Linked DNA regions of Homo sapiens: region 1 is linked to region 2. Evidence: promoter capture Hi-C in 16 types of primary human blood cells and fetal thymus (Javierre and others, 2016). All regions are on one chromosome and are shown on one strand. Each heading gives the region's core, a stretch centred on a gene start or on the middle of the fragment in contact. The rest is flanking DNA. Distances are from core to core; before and after follow the strand shown.

Region 1 (4,698 bases), core at 308-2,807, 37 kb after region 2:
TGAAACTGAAGCTAAGAGAGTTTAGGTAATTTTTTCAGCCATACAAGCTAGAAGGGGTAAAAATGAGTTTTAAACCAATAAAAGAGAATTATTTGTTGTACCGAATCCAAAACACACATTGCACGCAACACTGAATTCAGTGATGGAAAAGCCTAATAATTCTAATAATTCAATAGGAATGAAAAGGAACATTCACTTGGTGTAGTTAACAGAAGAGGTTAAAGACACGAAATGCAAACAAAAGCAATGTGGGCTTGACCATGAAACATGTGCTTTATTGGGGAGAAGCAAAAGAATAAACACACTTGCTCTCAGGATAGGAACCACCATCTACATCACAGACAGCAAAGCGAGATTAGGCAGTGATCTGGCTGCTCATCTTCCAACAACATATCGGTTTTCAGAACTAAGCCTTTTCTCTGTCAACGCTCAAGCCAGACAGAGGTTAGGGAAGATGCAGCCTCCCACTACAGCTGAAGGGAAGATGATGGAGTCCTGGGAGTAAGAAGAGCCACTGGATCTTGTTGTTTCATGGTCCTGATGAATTCTAGTGATGTTACTTGCTCTTGGGTGGATACTTCTGCTGGCAGGGTGGGTATGGTTGCACAGGAGGGCATTTATCCTGGCATGGTGGAGGTGGGCAATGCTCAGGTGGACAAGGAGGAGGCAGGTAAGGCTCAGGGCACTTCGGGGGTGGACATGGCTCTGGGCACTTTGGCGTGGGGCACACAGGAGGTGGCTGGCAGGGCTGCTTGCACTGCTGCTGCTGGTAAGACATCTCTCCTCAGTCTCAGAGAATCTGAAAGATACATACGAAACAGTGCTCATAAGAGAGACAGTCCTGTTGGTGGAGCAATTAGCTAGGACATCAAATCTCCAGTATCTAGGGACCAACTTTGATCCCTAATACAGTCTTTATGACTTTGTGAACCTTCTTCACACTTCACTTTTAGGACCTCTTACCCTCAGTTCTTCCGTCTTTCTGGCTGTTCTCTCATTCTACCATTTTCTGAAAATAAAATTGCCTATGAGACAGCAACAAATGTTGTCTGAATACAAACACTATCTGAAGAAGAAAAACTCAGATATTAAAAGTCTAGCCAATACCAAACAAATCTGTGCTCTTATCTTCCATGAGGCCCTAGTTACCAGTTTTAATGAGCTGGCTGTGGTGCTGAGCCATGAGTTTTTTAAGAGAATTGCAAAAACTTGCACCCATCACCCAAGGAGATTGCACTCCAAGAGAGATGTATTTGGAACAGATGTGAAGCAGGAGACAGAACAGCATCTTGTGTCTCTCACTCTCCTTCAGTTTAAGATTTTATATATTTGACTCCAGGTTCCTCATCACCTTCATGTTTATCTACCAAATACCAGCTAAAATTTACCTTCAAGACCTCATTATCTTCTTTTTCCTATCCATGAGGATAAATTGGTTAAAATAAACAGGCATTTCTGTACCCAGGTTAGACCCTAACACCATCCAAGTGCAAGAAAAGCTTCTAATATTTGTACTCACCAGAGTCTTCAAAGATCTACAACTGAATGGCAAGAAGATAGCATCAGTGTGGTGGAGAGTCCTTTTATAAGGGGCAGGCAGCCCTACACAGGGAACAGCCCAGGACTAGCATGATGTGCTTATTTCCCAACCAAAATACCACTTGCATGTAATCCATGCTGGTATCACAAAATTCCTAGTCCATGATCCTCCCCAGCAGGATAAGTGCACAGTGATTCACTTGGGACATTATCTCAGGTTCCTCATGCCAGTGGCAATTGTAGAACGTGACAAATTGTCTGACAATTGTGGTGCTTCCCTATAATTAGAGATGGTGCTTCTCCTACTTCCCAGCTTCCAAAGTATCCTGTATGTAAAACTACTCCCATTCAGTTGCACATGCCCAGTATCTAGCTGTGTTCTCTTTAGTAGAGACCAGTATGTGCTGATCCTGCAGCCTGGCTATATCCTAACCCTCAACTGCAGTTTTTCTTTACAACTAACTTCCCCTTTTATCATGGCCTATTGATCCTTAGGCTTTTCTTGACAATTAATTGACTTGAACAGGGTGACAAAATCATATATCAGCTTCCTAGATGCTGACAGCCCCAACCTGGGTGTGTTCTGACATGGTATTAATGGGCTTGAACAAGGCAACATCATCTCTCAGTTTTCTAGGCCATTAGAGTCATGTTGGGGCCCCTTCTTAAAGCTTCACATTTGCAGATTTACACACTAACCTCATCTCTGTGGCCCTTGTAACTATGAGTGACTTGTGGTCTACTAGAAATCCAAACTCATCTTCTCCCATTTTCTTCCAAACTGCCTTAATGTATGTGCTGCATCCATTTTGAAGCTTTTCTCCTACATGCTAATTCAATTTACTCCTTCACAATTTCTCTCTTTTGAAATGACATTTAGTAGGATTTCAGGCTTTCTTTGCACATTCGAGGAGTGAAGTTCTGTAAAGCTATTTATCCTGCTGTTTACTTCATGGATGTTTTTACCTAAATAAGTAAAGTATAGCTGGCACAGATCCCACGGATAATTTCTTAGTATAGCTTATTTAACCATATTAACACTTCAGCTAGTATTACTCACTGTCCCAACTTGGAAAAAACTTGAGTACCTTGGTTATGCATACATCTACAGCCACCACTACTGTGTGGAACTAAATATTTCCTAACCTCCTTGAAACACAGTTTACACAGCTGTAAAACAGAAATAAAAAATACACCTACCACAAAAGTCTCCTACAAAAACTCAAAGAGTGGCCTAAAATTATGCACATTACATAGTGGGTCTTCTAAGAAATATAAACTCTAAAATGTAGAAGAAATAAGAATAATAACTAATCATAACTAACCAATAATTTCAAACATGTCAAAAACAGATAATAAAGAATGGCATTGTTTAGAGTGAGGCCTATCTAGTGAAGATCCTTTCCCTGCATCCCCCATTCTTCTAGCTGTAGTCACTACTAATTAGACGGCATGGGTACCATAGCACCTACAGGGTCGGCACCTTGTTTTCCTGAGAAAGCCCCTCTCAGGGAAGATTTTTGCCTTGTGCTCTTTACCCAGAAGAATGCTGTGTTGTATCTGCAATGTTTCAAACTTGATTGGGTTGGTACAGTAGAGAAACAAAAAAAACTGAGGACCTAACATGGGAATTTGAAGAGGTAGGAACGTCTTTGAGTTGAGCCCTACTATTAAATTCTTTCTCAGCATCTCAGAGGAACAACATGAGGCTAGTTATCCCTCCCTAGTACTCTGAAACTAAACAATTTAGTCATCTAAGTTACTATCAGGAAACTGACACACTTCAGGGATGCCAGAAGGAACAGGGATGCTCCTGGGATGGGTGAGGCACTTTCACAGCGTTCTTTCTCATGTTGAAATCCTAGGAACCATAGCTGATGCATGCTGAAGAATTAGCTAAGGATTACGTGACTTAAAACAGTTCTATCAACACAATTTTAGACCTACTTTTCTTTGCCTCATGAATTACTAATAGATTCCAAAGTTATTTTTACCAATAAATTATTTGGTTTATCATTTATGCTTGATAAACTGAAGGAGGATTGGGCTTTTCAGAAAAGAATGCTTAATGAGGTTTGCCAGCTTCACAAAGGACAGTTTTTTTATAGAGAGAGAAAATAGCTAAAGGACAGATGATCCTCATTTTTCACAAATAATGGGCACTTGAAGCACTCTGTGCAAATTAAACCTCTGAAACTCACATAGTATCTACATGAGGGTTTGCTGGAGTTTACTTATAAACTAGTAACCGTGGTTATCTCAGGAGAATAGTTAAGTATCTAGGGAATAGGAGTGGGGGAGAGACTAACTTTTCACTGCATGACCATTTTCTTCTCTTTTGAATTTTGGTATCATGTATATTTTTTGCTTATTCAAAGTGTTTAAATATTTAAATGTTCAAAGATATTTTAAAATTGAAATAAATAAATCTGTGAGTAAATACTATGTTAGCAAACTGGCACTGTATAAACACAATGATTGAGTTAAGTCCTAATTAGGTGTGTAAATTTGAGCAATTTTCTTAACATTTCTGCAATTTTCAGTTTCTTCATTGAGAAATGGTAATAATAATACTTCTCTGACGGACATTTTTGTAAGGTGCAAATAAAATAAATAGTAAGCCTAGTAAAACAACCGTGTAAAGCTGGGAATTATGAGGCTGAATTACCTGGTCCCAAAGTTCCTGATTTGCCTAAAGATTTTGAAAAGAAGGACAAAGCTATTTTATGGGAGTCCCAGAAATGAAGAAACGAAGGAAGGTAGAGAGGGTAGAAGACAGGCGAGTGGAAAGAAGAGGAAAGGGGAAAGAGAGAGAGGATGACATTTCCCAAGGGCCATTTGATTTTACTTGATTTAACATTTATAGCCTAGTTCTTTAAGCTCCCAATAAAATTATTTCTATTTTAATAAATAAAGATATGCTGCTACTACATAATATGCCTTTAAGTTTTTGAGAATATAGAATTTAAAAATAATAGAATTAGAAATGAACAGAGATGGCAAGAGTGAGTGTCCTTGCTTTGCTCCTGATCTTAGAGGAAAAGCTTTTAATTTTTCACCCTCGAATATATTAGCTGTGGGTTACTCACATATGGCCTTTATTATGTTGAGATACATTTCTTCTATACCTAATTCGTTGAGTGTTTTAATCATGAAAAG
Region 2 (5,158 bases), core at 1,743-4,242:
GGAATTGAACAATGAGAGCACATAGACACAGGAAGGGGAATATCACACTCTGGGGACTGTTGTGGGGTGGGGGAGGGGGGAGGGATAGCATTGGGAGATATACCTAATGCTAGATGACAAGTTAGTGGGTGCAGCACACCAGCATGGCACATGTATACATATGTAACTAACCTGCACATTGTGCACATGTGCCCTGAAACTTAAAATATAATAATAATAAATAAATAAATAAATAATTAAAAAAATTTAAAAAAAACCCTCTTTAAAAAAAAAAAAAAGAAATACCATTTGATCCAGCAATACCATTACTGGGTATATACCCAAAGGATTATAAATCACTCTACTGTAAAGACACATGCACACGTATGTTTATTGTGGCACTATTCACAATAGCAAAGACTTGGAACCAACCCAAATGCCCATCAATGATAGACTGGATAAAGAAAATGTGGCACATATACACCATGGAATACTATGCAGCCATAAAAGAGGATGAGTTCGTGTCCTTTGCAGGGAGATGGATGAAGGTGGAAACCATCGTTCTCAGCAAACTAACACAAGAACAGAAAACCAAACACCGCATGTTCTCACTCATAAGTGGGAGTTGAACAATGAGAACCCATGGACACAGGGAGGGGAATATCACACACTGGGGCCTGTTGGGGAGTGAGGGGCTATGGGAGGGATAGCATTAAGAGAAATACCTAATATAGATAATGGGTTAATGTGTTCGGCAAACAACCATGGCACATGTATACCTATGTAACAAACCTACACGTTCTGCACATGTACCCCAGAACTTAAAGTATAATAAAAAATTTTTAAAAAGGAGTAAGTTTTAATATTTGATAGCAGAGTAGGGTGACTACAGTTTACAACAACATATTGTATTTTTCAAAATAGCTAGAAGAGAGGAATTAAAATGTTTCCAACAAAGAAAGAAATGATAAATGCTCAAGGTAATGAATGCCCTAAATTTCCTAATATCATGACTTTATCATTATACATTTGATCCATGTAACAAAATATCACATGTACCCCAAAATGTGTATAGGTATTAAGAATCAATAAAAAATAGCAAAGAGAGTCTTCTTATTTTCTATATTAGTTACAACCAAGCCATTCTATTGCTGGAACAAATATGGTAGTGGTTGTCGTGGGGAGTGATGATGATGATGATCTTGATGATCATGATGATGATGATGATGATAATCATAATGGTGGAAACGATGATGATATGTTGCTGCGAATAAACCTCTATCAAATGACAGCTAATCATGTGTTAGGCATTGTGCCATTAAAATTTCAGATAGTAATTCAATTTTATGCCTTAGACAAGTTTGTTAAGTAAATGTTATTTTGCTCACTTTGCAGTAAAGAGATTGACATTCAGAGAAGTTGAATAATATGTTCCTCAAATCAATCAAACACTAATTAAGGAAAATAAAAATAAAAAAATACAGAAATAATCTTTGATATGTCCCAAATTGTGAGATCCTGTCTGTGGATGAAAGAAAAGTGGAAATATACCCAAATGATTATAAAATATTGCTAATAAAGCATATTTGAAAAGAAACAAAAGATCCATTCACAAATATATATGCATAGATTCTTTATTCAGGGAGTGAAAGGAAAGTGACAACTGCACAGGTGGTGGAAGCTCATGCCCAGGGGACAGACAGACACAGAAAACATCAACAGAATTCTCTAATGGTTCCCAGGGAGAGAGCTGCTCTTTCTTCTGAAGCTCTGGGAGCTGGCACAGCCCAGGACTTCCTTTGCTCAGTCTCCACCTGGACAGTGGCAGTATGGCAGCCTCAAAAAGAAAACCTTTTGCTATCAGAGATCATCACAGGCCGATCACAGGCTAAGAGGAAAGAAGCTCCCTGTGTATCCCTGGATGGCTTTGATGAGAAGATGCAGGTGGAGCTGTGGAACGAGGTGAGCCAATTATCCTTATCCTTTCATGCTCCTGATGAATCCTGAAGCTGTTACTTGCTCTTGGGTGGACACTTTGGCTGGCAGGGTGGGGAAGGTGTCACAGGAGGACATTTCTGCTGGCACTGCTGAGGTGGGCAGGACTGTGGACACTTTGATGGTGGGCAGGGCTCAGGGCACTTCGGGGGTGGACATGGCTCTGGGCACTTTGGCGCGGGGCACACAGGAGGTGGCTGGCAGGGCTGCTTGCACTGCTGCTGTTGATAAGACATCCTGCTGGAGTCTCAGAATCTGAAAGAAATTATATGACAGTGTTCACGGGAAGGGAATCCTCCAGAGAGAGAAGCCAAAGCTTATGTAATACCATGGCATATTATTTCTCCAATCTCCAAGAAATTATTTAAACTCTTAATTCCCTTTTCAAGAGTCCCTGGCTTCTCACTTCCACTTCAGCGAATTACTTCATTGTCCCTGGGAACTCTTGTGTTTTCTCATATAATTTTTCCAAAGAAAATATCTCTGTAGTAAACAACCAAGCATGTTATTTCTATGAAAATAACATCTTCAAGAAAGGCAGTCACAAGTTCAGATACCCAGGGCTATCTCACAAGCTATTCCTGTTATCATTATCTGTTGTAAAATCCCAGTGGGTTGACATAGGCACACAGAAAACGACTGTTTGGGAAGAATTGCATGCTCTCACACCTGCTACGACATAAACCTTTGAAAAGGACACCAGAAAAGCAGAGAAAAAAAGAAAAATACTTTGTTATTTTTTCTTCTTCAAATCAAAGCTTTCCCCTTAACTAACTTCTCTGTCCATATGAACACCTAACTCTGTACTAAAAGAAAGCTAAAATAGCATATCATTGTGCTCTAATCCTAAATTTCCATCCACTAAGTAGCATCAAATCAACATTCATAGGATTGGATCAACCAAACTTGCTGTATTCAGATTAAATTCAACATTTCAGGGCACAAAGAACAGAGGAACTCCAGGAAGCCGACTCACCAGGTTCTCCAAGGCAGATCGGTGCTTAGGTACCAGGAGTTTAGGAGTCGTGCAGCAGAAAACCTCTTTATAGGGCCTGCTACCCCTCCCAGCAGAAAGTGTAACTGCCAAAAGCTACACTTATCCAGTAATTTCTTAAGCCAAATGCAAATTTATCCACAACTGGCCTGACAGTGATTATCAAACTAGGAAATATCCTGTTCTGGGATCTCCCCACTGGGTTAAGTGCTCCTGACTCACAGAGGCCCTGCCTTAGATCTCAGTTTCAGTGACCTATGGCAAAGAGGGACTTGGGGGATTCTCTAACTGGTGGTCAAGGGCTCTCTTTTTTGACTGGGGGCAATGATCCTTTCCTGTCTTACACCTTCCCTAAATCATAAAACTTCCTGTCCTGATCCACTTTACTGAATGCCATATTGTTGTACATGAACCCATCTCCACCTCTACTTTCCTTGTACAATTTGCCAATGCGCTAAAAGGAAGGAGAGACCTAACAAAGGCCTGGGTTCTGGTCCCAGATTTTTTTTTTTTTTTTTTTTTTTTTTTTTTGTTGCTAAGTTGTGTGACCACAGGCAGGTCACCTCTCCTCCCTGTGATTATAAGCAGGGGAGAATCATACTTACCTCTGGAGATGGGAGCTGACCGCATTGTGCCATCTGCTGACCCTGTTCAAGCCAGAAACTTTCTCCTCCACTTCTATCTTTCTCTCTCATAGAACCCTGGATTTTACGATTTTCCTTTCCTCTTTGAAGCTGTCTTCTCCACCCAATTTGTACAGGCAATTGTCACCTGGGACAGATTCCAGAGTGACAGCCAGTCTCCCCAGCACATTTGCTACTTGCTGCCATTAAGGATGTATACTAGCGCCTTTTTATTTATAAAAATGTATTCTTTGCTACCACATTAAGGAAACGGAGAGACATGAAACAAAATTACAAGCATTCATTCAAAATCTATGTATTGAACCATGCCTATATGATTCCCTGAAACCACCCTATAGAGCACAATCTGCATAGACTCACATTATCATATGTGAATAATTAGAAGTAGGTTTGCAGAGTGGAGATGGTCAGCGCACCTAAAGTCTGAAATCTGGGGGAAAATACAAATTAAGTATAATCTAATATGTATTCTTCCCCTCTGTTTCTAAACAGGTTTTAGGTGTTTCTCAGTGTTTTTTAATTTGTTTGCATGTTCTTTCTCTGTCTTTTCCATAAGCCCCCTAGTCTCATGACCTGCTAGATTATCAAGTCACACCCCAATGTACACCTCTCATCTATTCATTTTGGTACATATTGTTCACTCAACATATATATTGTCAATGCATATAGTGACTCCTCTTTCATATCTTTTGTAAACTCTTCCAGCAATTAGTGAGGCTTACTAAACATGGTATATTAAATATTTAAGTTGATGTTGCTAGAGCTTCCTTAGACCAGTAGTCAGAAAGCTTTCCAAGAATGTGGTTTATAGTTGGAGAAGAAGAAAGGAAAATGAGGAAGAGGAAGAGGAAAGACTCAAAATCATTGGAGCAGTCACCAGCTATGCTCCAGGAAGGGTAGGAGTGCTGAATCAACCCAGCATCACATCCCTCAGTTAAGCAGGTTAGGTTCCCAGAGCTGCCATTGCTCCCGTCAATAAGGAAGGGCTTTGGGGCAAGATCACTACTGGCCAGGACAGTACAGAAATAAAGACATCACGTCAGCACCTTAAGGCCAGGTATTTACAAATGGTGTTCTCACCAAATTACCCCTACAGACTATTACGCATGCTAAGCACATCAGGGGACAAAGTAAAGGGCCTTTATTCAATAGGTCACTTACTACTCCCCAACAGCCTCACATCACATCTAAAACACAAATCCTTAGAGAAATGTCTGATTTCTAACATGCAAAATTGGAGAATTGGCTGCCAAATGAGATCACTGTGTAAGATAATACAGTTTGAGTCATGCCCTGAGACTCCCCTTCTGAGAACACCCCACTCAAACAGGCTGTTTATCACAGCAGTGCAGGCACCAGAGTGGCAGCAGCCCTAGTGCCCCCAGCATCTCAGACAGGCTCACTTTACAAGTGAACTTGAAATTCAGAGTTTCTCACAGACCAGCTACATGAGGAATGGCCACAACATGAAGAGGGGCAGCTAACAGTCACAGCTTCCCCAAGTTAGGACATCCAGGCCCTGAGACATGCAGCAAGGCATACTTTA

Evidence for each region. The method cuts DNA at HindIII sites, captures the fragments that hold promoters and counts their contacts. A CHiCAGO score of 5 or more calls a contact.
Region 1: a contact is called between the fragment with the promoter of SPRR2G here and the fragment with the promoter of SPRR2F in region 2, in 1 of 17 cell types (naive CD4 T cells). The highest score is 5.2, in naive CD4 T cells.

Annotation. Positions count from the first base shown.
Region 1 is chr1:153,149,333-153,154,030 of GRCh38, forward strand. It overlaps SPRR2G (small proline rich protein 2G), which reads right to left and starts at 1,558. Exons shown (of 2, transcript NM_001014291.4): 1 at 1,520-1,558; 2 at 250-799. The coding sequence starts at 778. The coding sequence ends at 557. The HindIII fragment of the contact is 711 bases long and covers 1,498-2,208 here.
Region 2 is chr1:153,110,524-153,115,681 of GRCh38, forward strand. It overlaps SPRR2F (small proline rich protein 2F), which reads right to left and starts at 2,993. Exons shown (of 2, transcript NM_001014450.3): 1 at 2,951-2,993; 2 at 1,598-2,229. The coding sequence starts at 2,210. The coding sequence ends at 1,992. The HindIII fragment of the contact is 1,668 bases long and covers 2,731-4,398 here.